4 separate regions of the Homo sapiens genome follow, and all the other regions are linked to region 1. The links are contacts of gene promoters, found by promoter capture Hi-C in blood cells and fetal thymus (Javierre and others, 2016). All regions are on one chromosome and are shown on one strand. The core of a region is centred on a gene start or on the middle of the fragment in contact, and the rest is flanking DNA. Distances in the headings are between cores, read along the strand shown. Region 1 holds the start of SEMA5A (semaphorin 5A). Region 2 has its middle 76 kb from the start of MTRR. Region 3 has its middle 60 kb from the start of MTRR. Region 4 overlaps LOC124900936 (a long non-coding RNA gene).

The links. Contacts are between HindIII fragments. The CHiCAGO score rates a contact against its expected background, and 5 or more counts as called.
Region 2: a fragment that was not itself captured here is called in contact with the fragment with the promoter of SEMA5A in region 1 in 1 of 17 cell types (M2 macrophages); the score reaches 5.1 in M2 macrophages.
Region 3: a fragment that was not itself captured here is called in contact with the fragment with the promoter of SEMA5A in region 1 in 2 of 17 cell types (M2 macrophages and M1 macrophages); the score reaches 6.4 in M2 macrophages.
Region 4: a fragment that was not itself captured here is called in contact with the fragment with the promoter of SEMA5A in region 1 in 2 of 17 cell types (endothelial precursors and M0 macrophages); the score reaches 6.3 in endothelial precursors.

Annotation. Positions count from the first base shown.
Region 1 is chr5:9,544,423-9,547,380 of GRCh38, reverse strand. SEMA5A (semaphorin 5A) reads left to right here and starts at 1,306. Exons shown (of 23, transcript NM_003966.3): 1 at 1,306-1,797. It overlaps SNHG18 (small nucleolar RNA host gene 18), which reads right to left and starts at 1,181. Exons shown (of 3, transcript NR_045196.2): 1 at 851-1,181. RefSeq lists a silencer at 1,183-1,372. The HindIII fragment of the contact is 4,033 bases long and covers 1-2,958 here.
Region 2 is chr5:7,944,276-7,946,975 of GRCh38, reverse strand. No RefSeq gene overlaps it. Among named protein-coding and RNA genes, the nearest start is that of MTRR, 76 kb to the right of the region's middle. The HindIII fragment of the contact is 723 bases long and covers 891-1,613 here.
Region 3 is chr5:7,928,096-7,930,795 of GRCh38, reverse strand. No RefSeq gene overlaps it. Among named protein-coding and RNA genes, the nearest start is that of MTRR, 60 kb to the right of the region's middle. RefSeq lists an enhancer at 1,257-2,456. The HindIII fragment of the contact is 9,391 bases long and covers 1-2,700 here.
Region 4 is chr5:7,908,664-7,911,512 of GRCh38, reverse strand. It overlaps LOC124900936 (a long non-coding RNA gene), which reads right to left. Exons shown (of 2, transcript XR_007058683.1): 2 at 814-2,849. Among named protein-coding and RNA genes, the nearest start is that of MTRR, 41 kb to the right of the region's middle. The HindIII fragment of the contact is 852 bases long and covers 1,036-1,887 here.

The DNA of each region.
Region 1 (2,958 bases), core at 57-2,556:
CAATGGAACCCTTATGGACGCACCGGACCATGCCCAGGACCAGCGAGGCCCATCCATACCCCACCACTGGCTGGAAGGGCGCTGGTGTGAACGTGGGTCCTTGCGGGGGTCCCTACCTCACTGCGGTCAGGAGGGGGCAATTCACACATTTCCTCATGCAGGGGACCTTCAAGCCTCCCTCTGAGGCGCAGACTGAGTAAAAAGGGCCCAGAGATACTGTCCCGCACCCCCATCCAGTGGGAAAGGGCCACTCAAGGCCAGTCAGGACTCCCAACCCAAGTTTTATGCCTTATACTCCTATAACTTTACCATTTGCTCTTTTCGCGAGGCTGACCCCCTCCCTCTCCCCCCCCACCGCCTCCTCCAGAAACTGAAGAACTGCAACAAAGTGTCCAATTATACACGTCTTCAAAGGTACTTTACTTGCTTCCCAATTATCAACTTTTCACCTGAGTACTTAGTAAGGCCCAAGGATCCTGCAAAAGTGCAACAAGGAATAATTGACACAGAATTGGACGAATGACTTTGACCATACGGGACTTCTCTCTTAACGCTCAGCGTGGCTACCTGGGGACGCCTTCTCTGGCCTCCCTGATTCGTCAGATTTGTTCATTTCCTTGACTTAATCCCGCTGAAATCGACCCGAACTAGCCGGGAGTCTCACCCCCAAAGTGCTCCTCCAAGAACCCGCAACGACTGACTCTCTCGTCTTCTTTAAGGAGTTTCTCCCTCAGAACGGATGAGGATGTCACACAGAAAGAACAAAATCACAAAGTTCGAGTTCCGGAGGACCAGACGGCCCCTGCCCCCCATCCCCCGGGCCAGATTTAGCCGAGGGAACCGCACGTACCTGAAGCCGAGGCCGGCAGAGAGGGAGCGCCACGTCTCAGGTCTCGGCCGGCGCCCCCCTCCGGGGTGCAGCCACGTCTGAACCGGGACAGCGGGCGGGGGAGCCGCAGAGGGACCCAGTGAGACGGGGGAGGGAGCCCCCAAAAGTCAGCGCTCGGCCGCACTCGCACTGGGGAGGCTGGAATGGAACTCCTGGGGTGCAGCGGGGCTCCCAGGAGCGAAGGTGGGGGTCCTGTACCGGGAAGGGGCGGGGCCCGGGGAGGGGCTCGGGGAGGTCAGGCGCGGGTGGGGCGCTCGAGTTTCACCCCGGCGGGGAGGAGGAGGAGGAGGAGGCGGCGCGGCGGCGGGGGCGGGGCAGGGGCGGGGCGGGGCGGGGGTGGGCCCAGGCTGTCCCCCGCTCCCCGCCCAGCGCTCTCCGCCCCGCGCTCTCCGCGCCCGCTCGCCCCGCGCCGATCTACTTGCCGGGAAGGCGGCGCCGGTGGCGGCTGCTCTCCCTGAGCCCGCTCCCGAGCGCTGCTTTCCCGCCGCGGGTGGGCTTCGCAGCCTCAGGCCAGCCGCGGCCCTTGGCCCGCTGCAGCCCCGGCCCTCCACCTTCCCCGTGCAGGGGCGGCCCGGCCAGTGTCGCTCATCCCGGGACGCTCCCTTCTCCCACCCAGGACTGCCCCGCGGAGCTGGCTTGGACACCCAACTTTGCCACCTCGAGGGTCGTCTCTGCTGGGCGCGAACCTGCCCACCCACCGGTTGGCCGCGCGCTCGGGGACCGTGCTCGTGGCCCCCAAGCCGGTGCCCCCATTCTGGAACTCAGCGAGTAGGGGGCGGCTCTGGGGAAGTGGCAGGGGGCGGCTGCAGCTGCTGCCTCCACTTCCCTAGCCAGGTGCTGAAGAGGATCCTCGGAGCCGCTCTGGCCCCCAGGCGCTGGATGACTGGCACCAGCGCTCCTCGCACCTGGTGAGCGACCCCCGCCCGATTCCTGCGTGGCCTTGGCAGGAGCCCCTGACCGCGCCGCGCCGCGCCGCGCCGCTGGCCGGGACCCGGGGACTGCAGCGGTCGGCTGGTGGGTGGTGCCGATCTCGGGTGGGATCCATCAGCAGGCACCTGGGCGGGGGTTGCGCGTACAGGATTAGGACGACCGTCAGTCCGGGGGCGCCCACAGTTGAGCTAGTGCACGGGCTGGAAGTTTGTGTACCCGCCTGTGCCGAGGTCTGAGCATGGAGAGGTAAGGAGCCGGAGTGTCGCGGTGGGCGAGACGGGACCCCTGCCCAACACCCGGAAAGGTGCGCACACTGGTCTGTGCCCGCCCCCGGCGCGCCTCCAGGCTCGCACTGCCGCGAGCCGGGGGCAGGGGACACGGAGGTCGGGACTTGGCGGTTCGGGAGCGGCCACCTCGCAGCCCCACCGGCTTGGGCAGGTTTTCCTGCTTTCCTTACAGGGGAACCGGGAGGCAATGGGACTTGGGCTCAACTCCGCCAAGCGCCTTGGTTAATGAAAGACACTAAGGCGGGGGATGCAGAGGCCTGGGGAACCACCAGCCAGGTGCGCTGCAGCTAGGCGAGCCCCTTTCACCAGGCATCCCTCCGCTGCTCCACGGATTTTGCACACCGCGGCTCAGGGTTTCAGACCCCAGGGTTTCGGGCAGATCGGGCTCCAGAGGGAATGGTTTCTCCCAAGATGTGCGTGGGAACGGTCGTGGAGGAGTGATTCCCCCGGCTCGCTCCCCGCGGCGGCCGGTGCCTGGCTTGGAGCGGTCACATCCCTGTTCCCCTGGCTTTGGCGGGAAGCGCGTTCACCTCCTCGCCCTTTGCTTGCTTTGTACCAGGATGCCGCGGCCGGAGTTGGGATTTAACTTTCCTGCGCCTGCGGCGTCCTCGGGATTCCCGGCAGGGGGCGCTGCGAGCGAGCGCTCGGAGGACGAGGCGCCACAGGCAGTTGCTGGGTCCTGGGCGAGTGGGCGGGAGTCCCAGGCAACAAACAGCAGAACCAGGCAGATCTTGCAATAATTTCATTTTGGGGGCCGGGGGTTGGGGGAGCTGATCTGGTGGCTATAGAGAGCTGTCAGCCTTGCTAGGAGAGGGGACAGGAAAGGTGGTGGCCAGACATAAATGCTCTAAC
Region 2 (2,700 bases), core at 3-2,502, 1.6 Mb after region 1:
TCTCTTTATCATCACTTTTTAGAAATGTGATTACGATGCCCCTTAGTGTGATTTCTCTCATTTTCTTCTGCTTGGATTTTGTTGACTTTCTGGGATCTGTAGGTTTATCATTTACACTAAATTTGGGGAATTTTTGGCCATTTATTTCTTCAACTATTCCCCTCATTTTATCTCCCCTCTGAGACTGCAATTAAATATAATCACTTCATGCAAGCCATCTATGTTCATTCTTTTTCTAGTTCTGTTCTGTTCATTCTTTTTCTAGTCTCTTCTCTAGATCGAGTTCTTCATTTCATGTAGGATAAATTAAGAACCCCAAGCCCATGCATACTAAGGCAGGAGGTTCTGCCACATGGGAAATAGAACCCGAAAGAGTGAGCAGAGGCTGGGCATGGCAGCTCACACCTGTAATCCCAGCACTTTGGGAGACCAAGGCGGGCGGATCACTTGAGGTCAGGAGTTTGAGACCAGCCTGGCCAACATGGCAAAACCCCATCTCTACTAAAAATATAAAAATGAGCTGGACCTGGTGGCCATGCCTATAGTCCCAGCTACTCAGGAGGCTGAGGAACGAGAATTGCTTGAACCCAGGAGGCGGCAGTTGCAGTGAGCCGAGATGGTGCCACTGCACTCCAGCCTGGGCAACAAAGTGGGACTCCATCTCAAAAAAAAAAAAAAAAAAAAAAAAGACAGTGAACAGATGTTTTTTAGTCCTTATATTCTGGCCTTACATAAACAGGTTTAATTCTAGTCTCTTCCCACCAAACTCAAGAAAATAACTGTCCTTGTAGGAACACTGAATATCTAGTACTCAAGACAATCTTTGCTTCTGATGTCTCCACAGAGGTGTTCCACTCTCATGTTCAACATGCTCAATACCCACTCAAGCTTTGGATGGAAATCCCCACTCATTTTAGGTACCTGTGGTTTTATTTTTCTTTATTGCAATCTCAGCTATGCACTTTTATTTTACATTTACTATAACTTATTCAGCATTTTTCTGTAGTTGGCATGTGTACATTGCTGAGAGGTTGAGGAGGAAGGCATTCCATGTTAGTGCCATCTTCCACAGACTGGAATTCTCATGGCAGCATCTAAGGGAAATGATCCCAGAGACTCGTGGCTGCCATGGTTACTGGAAGGTCCATTGAACAAGGAGCTTGTTTCTATACATGAGTTGCCATGTGCATTTACTGAAGAATGTCATTTTTCTCAGTATTCAAAATAAATGTAGTATCTCTTTATAGCAAAGGTTGAGACCTTGTGTGTCTGAAAAACAGAATATACAGGAAACTCCAAAGTTTCTTATGCCTAGGTGTTGAGTACTCGAAGATCACCCTCCTGAGACTTTCCTTACTCTTCTTAACTGTGTAATTAAATACAACTGTAGTAAATTAAACACAGACAAAAATGCTTTCCTTGACATAATCTCAGTACAGTCTGCCTTAATTCTAATTAGCAAAATCTTCTGTTTTAAGAAACAATTTAGTTTAAAAGGTTTTAGGCATTTTTTATGTTAAAGTGTTGGCTATCACGACTTTTTCTGTAGTTTTTATTTCCTTAGAGCTATTCTTTGAGTGTTACTAGAGTGGGCTGCAGGGAATTGGAAAGCTTGGATGTGGGGCATGCTGACGGCAGTACTTTGGAGATGATATTATAAAAGCAATGTAGGCTGGGTGTGGTGGCTCACACCTGTAATCCCAGCACTTTGGGAGGCTGAGGCAGGTGGATTGCCTGAGGTCAGGAGTTCAAGAACAGCCTGGCCAACATGATGAAACCCTGTCTCTACTAAAAACACAAAAAATTAGCCAGGCATGGTGGCGGGTGCCTGTAATCCCAGCTACTCTGGAGCCTGAGGCAGGAGAATCTCTTGAACCCGGGAGGCGGAGGCTGCAGTGAATCTAGGTCATGCCATTGTACTCCAGCCTGGGCAACAAGAGGGAAACTCTATCCAAAAAAAAAAAAAAAAGCAATATAGACCAGCTTTCTTATGGGAAAGTGTTTCAAAACCCATCTTATCATAAAAAGGTAAACCCAAAGGTAAACCAAAAAGGTAAACCAAAGGTGATTTAGTGGATACAATAATCTTCTCCCAAAGAGACAAAAGTTGGCAACCTTCTTTCTAATGCATCCATTTGAAAGTTAGACATATTCACTTGGTTTTCCACTTTAGGCTGTCAAATTTTTGTAGACATTGGTGTCCAGGTCTGACAAGGTGAACGCAGGATTCAGACGATTCAGACATGCCCTGGATTTTTCCCTCAACCCCTTCCTCTCCGTTGTTTCCAAGCATCTAATCTTTTATTTCTGTTGGCAGAATTATCCTTGCCAAAGTGAGCAAAATTCTATCTCCACCTGAGTTGGGTAATATCTCATTGTTGTTTCCAAATGACTTTGATAGTTTGTCACAAAGGATGACCTTCAAAAGCTCCCCAAATTCTTACACAGCCCAACAGTAGGATTTGTTGTTACCTGGGTCCCAATTTAATTTTACTACACTGGCAAACTGTAGTTCCTGAAATGAAATAACCTGACTAAACTGTAAAGTTAATAGTGATGAGTTTTAAGATAAACAGGACAGTTGGTTATTTTCTAAGCACTGAGCACTGGCCCCAGTATCCTGATCTGCAGGCTTTGCAATTTGACATTTGCTGACGCAGACAACAGAGGGTCCATTTATAACAAAAAAGCACAGTCTCC
Region 3 (2,700 bases), core at 1-2,500, 1.6 Mb after region 1:
CAGAATAAGGCGAGTTTAGCAGCAATCTGCAGAACACGTCCCCGCTTCATTGTGCCTGCGCCTCTGCTCCGCTGCCTCCACCAGCAATGGCACAGAAACTGCATCAGCAGCAAGGTGGGGTGCCTACTGTAGCTTCTGCAGGTGCAGACCAGGTGGAATTCCTGAGCTTCCAAGATTAAAACACACAAGCTGCTTCCAAGAATTCCATAGTGTTATTCAGACAGAGGAACATGGGAGATCCATGGTGAATATCTGTGTGGTCACATTTATTTTCTTCATTTTATCAAATGCCACGAACCCAGGCACTCCTGGGGCGGGGATGAGGGGAATGGATTCTCAGACTAAATGCCTGTTACCTCGAATTAAACATCTTGAATATTCTCAATCAAAAGTGAGAAGATGTCTTGTTCCTAAAGACTTTTTCAAATAAAAATAAGACTATTCCAAAAGTATAAGACTATTACTTAAGAAAAAAAAAAAAGCTCAAGAAAACAATCCACTTCTTAGAGGAAACTGGCGAAACACAATCATCAACTTCACGCTGTGACCTGCAGTGCTTCCCATGGCTCCCCCAGCTGTGCTCCTGTATTATAGACTGAATTGTCACTCGGCCATATGTAATTCTTGTTGCATTTAAAGGATGTGATTTTTGGCAAGGATGGGCACTCATGGCTTGAAGTGTGCTTGCAATATATCACTCTTCACCTCTGAAGCCTCGGAAACGTGGGGAGGCACTGAGCATATACTTAGGGCAATGGGAAATTATGAGAGATGAAAAATATAAAAGCTCTTGGAATTCACTGGAATTCATCAGAATGATCGAGACCCAGAAAGCAGACATTAGAAGAGGTGTTTCTGTGATGTGGCTTGAAGTATTTGCTTCTTTCCCCTAGAATCGTTTTATTATTAAACTCCAGGAAAAAAATGTTTAAAAAAATACTCAATAAGTAGACTTTGAGAGACTATTACATTACGACTCAACTTCTCTCCAAAAGTCCTGTGATGCTAAAATGTGCTTTTTCATGGTGTTTTACCACAGATTATTCACTTCAATAAGAACTTATCATCTAGTAACTGAATTGGCAAATATTTTTCTATGTCTTCCAGTCTATTTTTCTGCTTTTGCCACAATATTTTCAAGAGAAGCTAAGCATTATTTATTGTAACAGCAAACTCAAGAAACTCAGCAAATGCTTCATTTCCAATGAAGAGACACTTAGAATGTTACCAAGTATTACCCCGTGGAGTTCTGTAGACATATAAGTAGATTTCTGATTATCACAGAAAGGTACATTCATAAGAGTTCCTGAAAGACCTTCTTCAGCTAAATTCCTCATATTCCAAATGTCTGAATTACTATTCATTTGTTCCATGTGCAGTTTGTTTGAAAAGTGACTATTGTACCTATTTCTGGATATAATCTTCCTCATTCATGATGTTAAAGTAAGCTGAAATTTCAAATCGTTACACTCTCACAGGTGGAGGGTAAGTATTGGGATGACTGGAGAATGATGAAGACGGTTGGCATAGGCCAGCCATGTGATGGAGGGGTCTGAGAGATTTACGAATGATCAGGGGACAGGTCAGTGCCACTAGAGTCTGCTCACGTGGCAGCAAGACTTCTGATTAATTCAAAAGGCTCCACATCCCAAGAGAGAACTTAGCACCAGCTAAATGACCATCCAGATTCCTGGAGTGACCACCCAGCACTGATGTTGGAATCACATGTAGCCAAACCCATTTCTTTTGTCCTGGAAGTTCACTTGGAAAGTTCTCAAGACCTCTTTATACAGGAGAATGTGGGAGCTCCTTGTAAAACGAGTTGCTCTTTCTCCTCCTCACCTATGGGAGCCCAGTTCTGAGGGGCCGTGAGGGCTGTGTGAGTAATTCACGATGCTTCACTTCAGGACTTTCACCTGACTCATGTGAGGAGCTGATGGATTCTTGACCCCAGTTCAACCAGAGGCCCCGGGAGTACAGGCAAACTAGTAGGAAGAAACTTTAATTACAAAGGGAGATGACGTGGGTACAACAGAGGGGAAATCACAACACTCCCTAAGGATTTTAAGGGCAATCAACAAATGAATGAAAAAATCATGTTTGGTTTACCTAGTTCAGAAGAATTCCCTTCATCCACAGCTGTGAGAGGGGAGGTTGAACGCAGCCTTTCATGTCTCTTCAGGTTCCCTTGCAGCCTTGTGTGGAGGCACAAGTAAGACTACCAGCTACCCTTTGCTGAGCACGTTCACCCATTTAAACCCTACAGCAAGATGGAAATACACAGCCTTTCATCCGTGTGAAAGATGAAGACACTGAGACACAGGAGGCCAAGTACCTCACCTGGCGCCACTTTGGTAAGAAATGGCTGTAGGGCGTCCTGTTTCAAGCCTCCAGCTATAACCACCACATGAAATCCCTCAAACAAGACCCCAATTTCATGAGCACTTAAGTGTCATGCACTGTTGAAGGCGTTTTATAGAAATTACCTCATGAAATCCTCACAACACTGCTCTAAGTGAAGGTCGTTATCCCCAGCTTATAAAGAAATGGAGGCCTAGAGGGTGTGAGCGTCTGACCCGATTGAGGTCAGCTGAGTCCAAAGCTGATGTCCTTCGCAGCCCTTCTTCCTGCGGACTAGGAGGCTGGCCCTCCACACAAAATTTCTGCTTTAAAAACTAGGGATTTAATTGTCCAATGGGG
Region 4 (2,849 bases), core at 212-2,711, 1.6 Mb after region 1:
ATGCTATTCTCATGATAGTGAGTAAGTCTCACAAGATCTGATTGTTTTAAAAAGGGGAGTTTCCCTGCATAAGCTCTCTTCTCTTGTCTGCCATCATGTGAGAAGTGCCTTTCACCTTCCACCATGATCATGAGGCCTCCCCAGCCATGTGGAAATGTGAGTCCAATAAACCTCTTTCTTTTGTAAATTGTAAATTGCCCAGTCTGGGGTATGCCTTTATCAGCAGCGTGAAAACAGACTGATACAGCGGCTAAGTCCCTCAGCTGTACTGGGTCTTGTGACAGTAGCTCACATATTTTACAGAGAAACTTCTTACAAAGAAATTACAACTTTCTCACTTCCCCTTGAAAATACTGAAGCAAAAGAAAAACTTAATAACCTACAGATATGTTCTGAAACAAAGGCAGAATTTAACTGCTCTTATACACAATGGAGTCATGATCTTTTGTTAAAGTCATCCACCTGGAAAAATAAAAACATGATTTAGACCTTTTCTGAACCTGTTCTTTGCCTGTTAACCTTTAGAAAATGAATTAAAGCTGTGAAAGGTGCTGAGTTAACTGCTACTGAATAAAGGACCATGGAGACAGATGTCTGCTCTGGAACCATGTGATGAGCTGGGCACTTGCCAGGAGAACTAAAAACACATCAAAATGACCTTGTTGTACATTAAATCCTTCTCCAAAATTCAGAGCACACCCATCAACCTGGTGTTTCTCCAGGAACATTTGTAGAAGTGATAGTAGTAATAGTAATAGCAGTAACAGTAGCATAAATACTCATACATTTTAAATACTTATTTTGTGTCAGATATAGCTTTAAACACTTTTATTAAATAAACTAATGAGCCACTATCAAAATTCCTATCCATTTAGGTTAACATGCCTACCCAATTACAAAGGTTGATAAAGATTTAATAATTTCCTCAAAACGAGGACAATGTTACAAAGGCTGTTAACACCAAATCTGCAAATCAAAGTTCTTGGTTGAACGAGAAGGCCAGCAGACTGGAGATACAGGAAACATTATTAAGCTTTACTCCTTTTTTTGTTTACCCAGAGCCCAGCTCAAAACACAGGAAGGAGTGTTTTCAGAGAAAATGATTTAGTGTGGATACTATTTTGAGTAGCATTTGAAGCCTTAAGCCATACAAGTACTATACATACACACCCACACACACACACATATATATATTTGACATTAAATAAGATAAACATTCAGAAATTAAAATGTAATTCATATATTCCGAAGTACCATCGTATATATTCTAATCTGTTGTGATTAAAAAAGATACTGAAGAGTCTACCTTGCAAAAGGATAAAGGTAGTTTAAGATGACAAACAATCAAGAAAATGTACTATTTTTTTAATGGCAGAAATAGTGAAAGGGAAATGTTCCATTTTCTGACTTCTGCATTTTAACGGAGTAGAAAAATATAGAATGTTAATAAAATGGTAAAATTTTTAAATGTTTTTCTATTATTATTTTTAATGAAATTCTTCCTGTAGCATAATAGAAAGCTCATCACTCAGGACACTGTATTATTTATTATGATGATCCCATGTACTTCCTCTTTCAAAAGTTATGCTTTGGTTCAGCAGTGTTATCCATAACACATTTGAAACCCAAGCAGATAATGGTTTATCACATCCCTTATGTGACAAAATTCTTTTCAGTAGTAATTATGTAATGAAACATATATTAATGATGGTGGAAAATAAACACAGTAAAAATGTTCACAGTCATTAAAAAGCACAGTCAGTAAAACACGGTCAGTAAAAATGTTTACAGTCAGTTAAAAAAAAGTTTTACTGAACCTCATCTATGTATATATCATTCCAGTTAAAAATAAAAAGTAAAATAAGTATTACAACTTAAATGAAAGCTTCCCATTCCAAAATGGTGGTGTAGAAACAAGTTGGCCTCATTACCTCCTCCCCACAGAAACCCAGAAACAAATACACAGTGCCAAGATTATCACCAGTAGTATTCCAGGACTCAGATGAGAATGAGACAGTTCCTGGAATCACAGAGAATTGAACAAATTTTAAGCAGACAGTAAGGGAATCAGACTTCCATATTCATAATGCCCCTCCACCCAATCTGCCCATCACAAAGCATGTGGAAAATTTTCCCTCAACATACAGTCTCTACACTGAAAAAAGTGACATCAAGGTGGACAATCAGCTTCCCCACCATTCAGGGCACCCTAGTAGGAGACCTTTCCCTTTTGCCCACAGAAACTATCAGTAGTGTCTGAAGGGAGAAATATCCCTGAGAACAGCCAGAGACAAAGAGGGAAGGTGGAACTACCATCCCTAGGCCTGAAAATTTTGCTCTGTAATTTGGCCAACTAAAACACTAAATCAGAGTGGCTCTTCAGTAGCATGATGCTGTAAGAGGTTTGTTTCACAGGTCCTCTGGGCATGAACCCCCAGCCTTCTCATACTACTGGGATATCCCCTTTGAAACCTTCTGATTTGAGATAGGTGGTACTCTGATTGCTTACTAGAACCAAGGCAAACTTGGTCTTAAGGTGTCATCTACTGCTGAAAAGGGAGCAGCAACCTAGTAGGGGAAAAAAAGAAAAAATATCAAAAGGTAAATTATAAAGGATCTCTAAGAAAACATATCCAATAAAAAACAAAAATGTCAGAGAAGACTAGAATAAATAACTAATTCTTCAATGAAAAGACACAGATGTACATCCAACAGAAACAATAGCAGAGAACCATGATCTCTCCTAAATGGACAAAGCAAGGAACTGGCAACTGACCCTAATGAAATGGTGATATGTGAACTCTCTGACCAAGAATTCAAAATGGCAGTTTTAAGGAAACTCAGTGATA